2 separate regions of the Homo sapiens genome follow, and region 1 is linked to region 2. The links are contacts of gene promoters, found by promoter capture Hi-C in blood cells and fetal thymus (Javierre and others, 2016). All regions are on one chromosome and are shown on one strand. Each heading gives the region's core, a stretch centred on a gene start or on the middle of the fragment in contact. The rest is flanking DNA. Distances are from core to core; before and after follow the strand shown.

The links. Contacts are between HindIII fragments. The CHiCAGO score rates a contact against its expected background, and 5 or more counts as called.
Region 1: a fragment that was not itself captured here is called in contact with the fragment with the promoter of MAL in region 2 in 1 of 17 cell types (fetal thymus); the score reaches 5.8 in fetal thymus.

The regions. Positions count from the first base shown.
Region 1 is chr2:95,057,902-95,062,786 of GRCh38, forward strand. No RefSeq gene overlaps it. Among named protein-coding and RNA genes, the nearest start is that of MAL-AS1, 33 kb to the left of the region's middle. The HindIII fragment of the contact is 5,597 bases long and covers 1-4,380 here.
Region 2 is chr2:95,024,294-95,029,516 of GRCh38, forward strand. It overlaps MAL (mal, T cell differentiation protein (MAL blood group)), which reads left to right and starts at 1,415. Exons shown (of 4, transcript NM_002371.4): 1 at 1,415-1,592. The coding sequence starts at 1,500. MAL-AS1 (MAL antisense RNA 1) reads right to left here and starts at 2,736. Exons shown (of 8, transcript XR_007087136.1): 1 at 2,266-2,736; 2 at 2,047-2,140. RefSeq lists a silencer at 1,315-1,444 and an enhancer at 1,799-2,522. The HindIII fragment of the contact is 7,953 bases long and covers 1-4,909 here.

The sequences.
Region 1 (4,885 bases), core at 332-2,831, 34 kb after region 2:
TTCTAAGAGCTGGGGCGCTGGAGCAGACACGGGGGTTCCTAGCTGTGGCTGCTCTCTTCCTTCACAGGTAACGAGATCATCACACTGCCAGGCTCTCTAGAGGGTACCAGAGAGGTTGGATTCACACGGGGTGCTCGGCTGCCAGGACTTCCTTCAGCTGGAGGCAGGCACCCATGACATACGGCGTGAGATGACTTCCCAGCGCCGCTGGGTGCCAGGTGCTGCTTGAAGTGCTTTACTTCTTCACTTAATCCTGTGACGACCTTATGTGGTAGATACAATTTAGATGAGGACTCTGAGGCACAGAGAGGTTAAGTGACTTACCCAAGGTCACACAGCAAGTAGGCATGGATCCTGATTCCAGCAGAGTGGCTCCCGGGCCCCTGAGGCTAACCGTCATGCTTCATGTCTCACTGTGACAGGGTCCTTGTCTCTCTGGGAGCAGGGGGCACATGCTAAGATGTCCTTCATACTCACAATGCTGACTTTACCAATACTGAAAACTCCAAATGGCACTTGAGGAGTGTCAGGAAAACCTAGCCAGGAGCCCAACCTGCTGCGGAGGGATGTCTGAGATGAGGGAGACTTTGCCATACAAAGAAGTCGGAAAGGGCTTCCCTGGGCAGAGCAAGGGTGATCTGGGCCAGGTGTGTGTCGAAGGCTGGGGGGTGAGGGGGTGTCTTAGGAGGTTACGAGGGCCTGGGCTGGTCCTGGAGGCAGAGCTGAGCTTGGCTTTCACCCAAGGGGCAAGCCCTGTGGGGGTATCTCTTGGGCAGTGGCAGCCATCCAGCCGAGAGATGCTGTGGGTGTGAGCGGGCAGGCTGGACCAGGGAGATAGGAGAGATGTGGCCAGATCTTGGTGAGCTGAGAGCAGCCAAAGGGAGTGGCCGAGGGCATGGATCCCTGAGCCAGCCCAAGTGTGTGGTCCCTCTCAGCCTCAGCTTCCTGTCTGCAGAATGGGAATATTAATTCTGCCTCACAGGCAGCTGGGAGGATTTGAGGACTCGGTTCAGATAAGTCCCTGGGACCAAGGACATCTCAGGAAGTACCGGCCGCTGTTATCATTGTGGGAATGAAGAAAAAGAAGGTCTAGAATGATCCTGAACTTTCCAGCCTGGGCAGACGATGGCTATTCACATTATGCTTATTCATTAACCATGTTGTTGGCATTCTGTCATGAACTTGGGCTGGTACTTTTGCTTTTTCCCATAGAACTGAACGTTTAATCAGCCATGACATAGTTTAAAACAGTCCCACTTAGGAAACCAAGCTCCAGTGCTTTGGGGAGAGGCCATTCCTGCCACAGCCCCTGACACTGAGGGAGGAGCTCCCAGAGGGCCTGAGAGGGTCACAGTCACTGGGCGGGCCTCTTCTCTCCCTCGCCCAGGGCATGAGCAGCCAAGCCAGAGAAGCCTCAGCCACCGGCACAGCAGCACCGGGAGAAGCCCAGGAATTTACAGATGAAGAGCCCAGGTCCCAGGAGGGTGGGAGTCTGGCCCAGGGCACCAGACAAGTCAGCGCCAGGGTGGCCTCGGCCCCGCCTCCCAGGCTCCCTCCCCTGTGAGCCCCTGCTGCCCACCTCTCCTATGGTACCTCACTGCTTCCCACACTGAGGCAGAGGGAGAGACGGGGGCTGGTGAGAGCAAGGAGTAACCCACGATAAAGACAGGGCAAGGGGGCAAAAAGGGGCTGGGGAGGCTCACTGAAGGCAACTTCCAGGTCTATTGCCCACTGGGAGTCTGGCCCCGTGGCCTCCACTTTCTAGGGTGAGAGCTGGTGACACCTGTGGATCATGCAGGACAGACCTCCACCGGTGGCTGGAATGAGGGGCACGGCTGCCCCTCACATCATGCACCCATCACCCAGCACAGTCCAGGTGTGTTGTACCATGGGTGTTAGGTGGCACGATGGTGGTGATGAGGATGTAATCCACTGGCTTAAACCCTGCCCAGCTCACATACTCCCTCCTCCAGGGCGCTACACCTGTCCCACTCCTGCTTCTGGGCATCCTGGCTCCCCACACCCCACCTGCTGTCCTTAAGCCTGCAAGCCCCCACCCTCCAGACCCCACTCCCGATACTCCACTGCCTCCCAGACACCATGGCTGGGTCTCAGCTGATGCTCACCCATAGCCACCCTCAACAGGCTAGGAGGACTGAGAGGCCCCACGCAGCCCCCCAGGACAGCTGTTGGCCGAGGGAAGAGGAAGAGAATTGACCCTGAGGGCCCCACCCATGGTTCATCCCTGCCACCAAGCCAGGAGACGGTGGCCCGCAGGGGAAGTGCAGGTGGAAGGACAGCATATTTTCATGGACTACTCACTTCTACAATCGGGGCTGGGGCCTCCAATCTAGGCCCGTGCCCCATCTTGGACAAACAATGACAGGAATGTGCACCGAGATGGTGTGCCCAGCCAAGCCAGCCTGGGTGGCCAGATGCTGGGATAGGGCCTGCCCTGCCCTTCACCCTACTTTCTGAGGTGGGCAGTTTTCTGGCTCTGGTGCTGACAGGCGAAGGCTAAAGATACCCAGTTCTCTGGTGGCTGTCCCCACAGAGTACACTCTCGGACACTGGCACTGTCCCTGCTGGAATGGAAGGGGCAGGGTTTCTGGCCTCACTTGGCAGGAAGGTGGGTAGAAAGAGGTTAAGGAGGGACAGAGAAAGCTGGCCACATGGTCAGTCTCGTGCCCCATCCCACTCGCTCCATCTGCTGAATGTCGTTACCTCCTGTATCAAACATGAGGCCCCACAGCGGCCGGTGTGCATTCTCCATATAAGTGGAACTAAGAGCTCCGCACGTGTTCTCCACTGTCACCTCAAGACAATCCTCCTAGGGAGATGCTACGATCATTTCCACCATGCAGATGAGGAAGCAGGTTCTCTGAGGCTGAATCGTGCCTGGCTAATGCCACACACAGATGAAGCCAGGCAGAGGCATCACGTAGACTTCTGCATCCTCAGTGTTCCCTGTCTCCCTGTGAGTCTGTCTTCCCTTGAGCACTCTTCCCACCCTAGCCCTGTACGCAGACTGCGCTGGATGCACGCTCTCCGCTGTCCCGGCTTCCCTCTGAGGCTTAAAAGGGCTATTGTTCCCAACGATGCCTGCACTTTGGCCAGGGAACCTCTGGTGCATGGGGCACCAGAATGGGGAGTATTTGGGGATTTGGAAAGAAAAAACTAATGTTTTACAGTAAAACTTACTGGTGGGGTGCAGTGGCTCTTGCCTGTAATCCCAGTACTTTGGTGGGAGCTTCGCTTGAGGTTAGGAGTTTGAGACCAGCCTGGGCAACACAGGGAGACCCTGCTTCTACAAAAAAAAAATTAATTATCTGAGCATGGTGGTGTGCATCTGTGTTTCCAGCTATTCAGGAGGCTGAGGTGGGAGGATCTCCTGAGGCCAGAAGGTTGAGACTGCAGTGAGCTATGATTGGGCCACTGCACTCCAGCCTGGGCAACAGAGCAAGATCCTGTCTCCAAACAAAAAAGAAAAAAAAGTGTTTACTTTACACCCCAAACAGGAATGGTGCTATCTTTTGACCTAACAGGACTCAGATGAGACTTTAGTAAAGAAGACAGTTGCCTGATCCTGTTTTGCTTTCTGTATTGTTTCAGGGGAATAGAATGCAAGCATTTCCCAGTCCAGACAGGCAGGTCCCCTGGCCCCAACAGTGGCCTGGTCCTGACATAGGGTCCAGGTTTGGGAAGAGGCTGGCTGTTCAGGTCTGTTCACTCCTTCCTGCTCTGAAGCCTGTCTTGCTGAGCATGTGCTTCCCGCAGGGGTGAGAGGACAAACCCAGAGGAGCAGCCCCTCCACCCAGTGTTTGAGGAGCTGTAAGCAAGCCCCAGCAGACTCAAGCAAGCTCCAGTCGAGTTAATTCCCAGACAACTGTGAGAGAGAACAGGCTGCAGAGGCCATCTGAGGTCTGCAGCGAGTGGTTGGGGACAGAGAGAGGTGCAAGGGACAGGCATGGATGAAAGCGCCCCTTCCTTGGGCACCAGCACACTGACAGCTGTGGTTCTGGTGTGCGGCCTTGGCTCCGTGGGGCCTCCACATCCACACACAGACCCTTGTGAGGTGCAAAGCCGTGGTCCAGCCACCTGCCCAGACAGTGGGTGCCAGGGAGCCTTCCTTCCTCCCCAGCCACGGAGACACAGCCCTCTCCCTTCCTGCCCTCCTACCCGGGGTGCTGAGAACAGTCTGTGTCTTCACAGAATCGGTGCACCCTTGCCTCCTACCCAAGCAGGGCCTCAGTCAGCGACTGAAGCATCCTGTGGAACTCACTCAATCCTCAAGCCCCTATTGGTCACTCCTTTGGCACAAGGAGTAACTTCACCTCCTACTTCTAAAAATAGAAATTTTTTAGTTAAAAAAAAAAAAGAAGCTTCCCTATTAGAGGAAGGGACCCTTCCTGGACCCCTTCTTCCTGCCCATCCCTCCCTCTCTACAAACCCACCTCCATCCTCCCAGTCACATCCACCCCCACTGCCAGACTCGGGCCTCCTTCCAACACAGCTGTCTCCCCCATCTTCAGTGGCTGTTCTGCTCCCTTCGGGGTCGCCCCCACGGCATCCAGTCCAATCTCAGCATCCTTCAAGACAACAGCACCACCAACACACCCAAAACCAGATGAATACATAAGCAAAAATGAAAATGCGAAAATCTCACAACACCCAAATCACACCAGACCCAAGAAAACCACCAATCCCGCTCCTCTTGTCCCCTGCCCAGCCCGACTCCTTGAAAGAGTCAGCCCACAGCTCTGCCCATTCCTCTGCCTCCAATGTGCTCTCTTCATTTGTGTTAGTAATCCTTACATTTTTATTTCTACCAAGCATAGATGTGAACGTGGTTTGAAGGCTCAAATAGTTCATAAAAGCTCCCAAT
Region 2 (5,223 bases), core at 165-2,664:
GGTCCAACTAACGAGCTATGAGATGCCCAAGGTGGATGAGGACCTGGGCTCCTAAAGTCCCACAGCCCATTGTGTCCAGAGAGATGCTGCCCTGGGGACCCGACACAATGGCACCTTGGTTGCAGCCGTCCGGGCTGGCAGCTCACAGAGGCACAGTGGGGTTTTCTCATTTCAAATGCCTGGCCCCTTTCCAGAGGCACTTAGAATGGCCAGCTGATGGGCGTGCTACTTTTGCTTTGGAAAATGCGTCCACGAATATACTTCTCTCCCTAGGGACTGGGAAGGAGGAAGAATTGTGCAGCAGGGAGAGGTGAAGGCCCCACTGGAGAGAAGGGGAGCCCCTTGTCCTGCCTGCAGCAGCTGCCAATGGAAAGAAAGAAGAGTTGGGAGTCTAAGCTGGAGGTTGCGGGGCCAATTCCCTTTTGGCAGGCGAGAATCCGGACTCGGGCGGATTTCAGGCTTCAGTGTTTGTAGGAGGAAACACAGCAATCACACTATTAATAGTAAATTAAAATAAATGGGCAACTGCTGCATGGTAATACTTTTTTTTTTAAGGCAAAAAATAAAAAATAGTGAAACAGAGAAACAAAACATGAAACACCGGCAGTCAACAGGCAGGCAAAGAACCTGGGGGTGGGGGTAGCAGCGGTCCCACCCTCAAAAGGCCCGGGCTGCCCAGACCAAGAGAAAGCGATGAATCTCTTCTGGTAACGTCCCTTCCTGTCGCATGGATTCAAGGCCGACCTGCCCCAGCACCACCACCAGCAGCCTTCTGCTGGGGCCGGCACAGCTGGGAGCAACCTCCTACTCTCAGGCAGACGCGCAGCACCAAGCAGAGAGGCCCGGTGCAGGATCCCAGCGCCGAACCAGCGCCGGCTCAGTGGACGCGGAAGGGGCCGGCGGCCGCGGCCGGTCCCATCCCCCACTGCAGACCCCCAGCCTGTGGCGGTGGTCCAGTTCCGCCAGGAAACCGCCGCCTGGAGCTGTGGGTCGCGCACATTAACGCATCCAGCGGAAAAATGAAGGAGACCCAAATTCAAAGTTAAAGTAATGGTGACCCGAGAGGTGCCTTGATGAGAAGGTTTGGGGTCCCGGTTACTGATGGTTATCATTCTTACGAGATGCTGGTCACCTACGAAGGGAGAAAGGCACGAGGAGCGCCTGACCAAAGTGGTTTTGCCCTGCTTCCCGCAAGAGGTGGCACCCACGGCTGGAACGCAGGAGTCAGACCCACAGTCCCCAGCTCTGGACGCCCGCAGCGGGGCCTCGAAGAGGTTCAGGGCGGTGCCCGCGGCGCTCGGGCCGGGTCTCCCGGGGCGTGGGGCGGGGGGCGGGGTTGGGCGGCGGCCGGGGCTCCTCCCTCTTCTGCCCCGGGCTCCCCTGCTCTTAACCCGCGCGCGGGGGCGCCCAGGCCACTGGGCTCCGCGGAGCCAGCGAGAGGTCTGCGCGGAGTCTGAGCGGCGCTCGTCCCGTCCCAAGGCCGACGCCAGCACGCCGTCATGGCCCCCGCAGCGGCGACGGGGGGCAGCACCCTGCCCAGTGGCTTCTCGGTCTTCACCACCTTGCCCGACTTGCTCTTCATCTTTGAGTTTGTGAGTGGCTCCTGGCCGGGGAAGGGACGGGGTGGGCTGAGCCGTGCGCTCTCTCGGGCGCCCAGCACAGCTGTCGGACGGGATCCGCTAGCTGCGCAGGTTCTGGGAGCATCGGGGCAGCAGGCGCAGGGCGGGGACTAAGCCAGGGAAGTCCCCTCCCACCTCCGGTCCTTTGTGCCCTTCTAGACCAACAGAATGAGGGGAACAGTCTACAGGACTATGGAGGAAAAACTGGGTTCCCAACTGGGGTCAGATGTAGGCAGCGGGGCAGGGGGGGACGGCTCTTGGTTCGCTGGTCCCAAAGCTGCGCGCGGGGCCCACTTGACGCGCGCAGCGCCACCGAAGCTCCCGCCGCGCTTTGCGCGGTTGGGTAGAAGTGCGCAGCTTTTACAAGGGAGAAGGTTTCGTTAAAAAAGAAAAAAAAATCAGCAAGAGAAACATTAGTATTACCAACCGAGATTTGGAGATGAGAGGGAGCTGAATCCGGTTTATTTTCTTCTGGCCTTTTAAAGTTTCTGGCGAGGGAACGTATTTGCGACCAATTCGATCTGGAAATGAGGCCATCGTTTGCTTGGCCGCAGTCCTTCTGCCCCGTGTGCGGGGTGGGGGTGGAGGAGATGGGGGGTGGGGGGTGGGGGGTGGCGGCGAGAGCGATCCGCGCGCCTCGACTGACCTTGGGCAGGCCCGGGGCCTCTGCACCTGCGGTCGGTCCCGCCTTGCACGCACGGTCTCTGCCTGAGGCTGCAGGAAAGCGCTTCCTACTGAGAACTCCTGATAAGCGCTCACGGTGTCGCGAAGCCGAAGTGACCTCCCTCAGCCTCAACTCCCCGGGGGCCGCTGGCCTTCACCTGGGAGGGGTGTGCCCTGTATGTCCTGTGGGTGCGGTCCGTCACCGCCTGAGGGACACCTTTTCCGGCACCCCACCCTCAGAAGTGTCAGCGTGGAGAGTTGGGCGGGAAAGAAAATGTCGGAGCCTGGCTGTTTAAAAATTGGACCCCAGGTTGTTATTGCCTGATTGGAGGGGGAGGGTGTGAATACCAAAGGGAGCAGGTCAGTTCATCCAAAGAGGGCTTGCGGGCAGAGGCTAAGAGGGCTGCGGCGGCCTGGGAGCAGGGCTACCATTGAACTTAGGGTGAAAGTCCAGTCGAACCCAAACCTGGGTGGAACCGGTGACTTGAAATCCTAGGGATAGGCGGAATCAAAGCAGTTACATTTAGAAGAAACCCTGGACGCCAATGAACGCAGCCCCACCGTTTACAGAGAGCCAGCCCCCCGCTGGCCTCCTTTTAGAAGTTCAGCATACAAGAAGGAGTGCCCCTGAGAGTAGGAACAGTCCAGTTAGACGGGGCGATCTGATCTGCGGGAAAGGTGACCGGAGACTCCCACCCAACCCGCCAATGCTGCAGAAATTACAGGGGCGTGGGAAACCTTGGAACCATCTACTACTGGCAGCTTGCTCTTCCAGCGTGGCTTTGTGGCCTGCCGGTAGCGGGGCTTCCAGAAGAAACAACTCCCCCTCGCCCAGAACGCTTCTCTCAGCTGACTTAGAAAGTCACTTCTCCACCTCACCCCTGTTCCCCACCTCCCTTCCTCACTTCCCAGGAGACCCGCAATGCATAGTCATCTCCAGGCATCTTCCACATGCTCTAGATTAGGGGTGGGCTCGCAGGTGCCTGGGAGAGAAGAGGAGAAAGCTGACCCCAAGCCTCTCAGTTCTCCTCTGCATGGACTGTAAATACGAAGCTGTATATATTTGATGTGTGGAAGGAGTGGAGAATTAAAGGGCCTGAGAAGGCGCTGGCCACCCCGGGAGAGTTTTTGTTTTTGTTTTTGTTTTTGCTTTTGAGACGGAGTCTCGCTCTGTCGCCCAGGCTGGAGTGCAGTGGCGCGATCTTGGCTCACTGCAGGCTCCGCCTCCCGGGTTCACGCCATTCTCCTGCCTCAGCCTCCCAGCTACTCGAGAGGTTTTTTTAATTATGGAATATTACAACTCGACAACAAAAAGACAACCCAATTAGAAAATGGACAATGGACTTGAACAGAGGTTTCTACAAAGAAGATACACAAATGGCCAATATGCACATAAAAAGATGCTTAACATCATCAGGCATTAGGAAAACTAAATTGAAACCACAATGAGGCCAGTTGCGGTGACTCACGCCTGTAATCCCAGCACTTTGGGAGGCTGAGGTGGGTGGATCACCTGAGGTCAGGAGTTCGAGACCAGACTGACCAACATGGTGAAACCCCATCTCTACTAAAAATACAAAAAAAAAAAAAAAAAAAAAAAACCCGGCTTGGGTGGCTCATGCCTGTAGTCCCAGCTACTCAGCAGGCTAAGGCATGAGCATCGCTTGAACCTGGGAGGCAGAGGTTGCAGTAAGCCGAGATCATGCCGCTGCACTCCAGCCTGGGCAACAGAGTGAGACTCGGTCTCAAAAAAATAAATTAATAAGTAAATAAATTAAATAAATAGAAAGAAAGAAATCACAATGAGATACCACTTCACACCCATTAGGATGGCTACTATCCAAAAAACGGAAAACATCAAGTATTGGATGTGGAGAAATTGGAACCCTTGGTATGCCACTGGCGGGAATGTGAAATGGTTCAGCCACTGTGGAAAACAGTTTGGTGTTCCCTCAAAAAATTACCCTCTGACCCAGCAATTCCACTCCTGGGTATATAACCAAAGGATTCCAAGCAGGGACTTTAGTATTGGCACATGCATGTTCATAGCAGCAGTCTTCACAATAACACACAGCCCAGTGGCCATCAGCAATGAACTGAATAACAAAGTGCGACATATCCAAACAATGGATACTACCTGACCATAGAAAGGAATGAAGTACTGATACGTGCTACAAAGTTGATAAACCTTGAAAACTCTATGCTAAGCAAAAGACACAAGGCACAAAATGTCATATAGTGTATGATTCCGTTTATATAAAATACTGGAATAGATAAATCCATAGAGACAGAACACAAACCCTGGTGGTTTGCCAGGGACCAAGGGGAGCAATTGTTTAATCGCTATGTGGTTTCTTTTTGGGGGTAATGAAAATGCTTTGGAATTAGATTGAGTTGGTGGGTGCACAACACCATGAATGTACTAAATGCCACTGAACTGTCAACTTAAAATGATTGGTTTGATGATATGTGAATTTCACCTCAAGTTTAAAAAACAAAAAATAGAAATATTTCAAATGCCACAGAAGAACATATACAATACTTTAACAGACACCTACATAATTATTGCCCAACTTTGTCAAATCTTAATATTTTGCCTTGTTTGCTGTTATGTATTAAGGAAATGAAGCTTTCAGATGGCATCTAAGCCTCCTAGACATCCTTCTGTTATCTTATTCTCTCTCTCCCTCCGTCCTCAGGGCCACCTGTAGGCTGAATGTGGTGTTCACTTCCAAGCACAGGTTAGACTTTTACTGCACACATATGAACTACACATGGCATTGTTTTACATGTTTTCGCACTTTATGAAAATGCCAGCATACAGTACGTATCCTTCTGCAACATGCTTTCCAGGCAACATTATGTTCTGAGATTTATACATGTTGACTTTGTTTACCCAGTCTTCTGTTAATAGACACTTTGGATAGTTCCAATTTGCTGC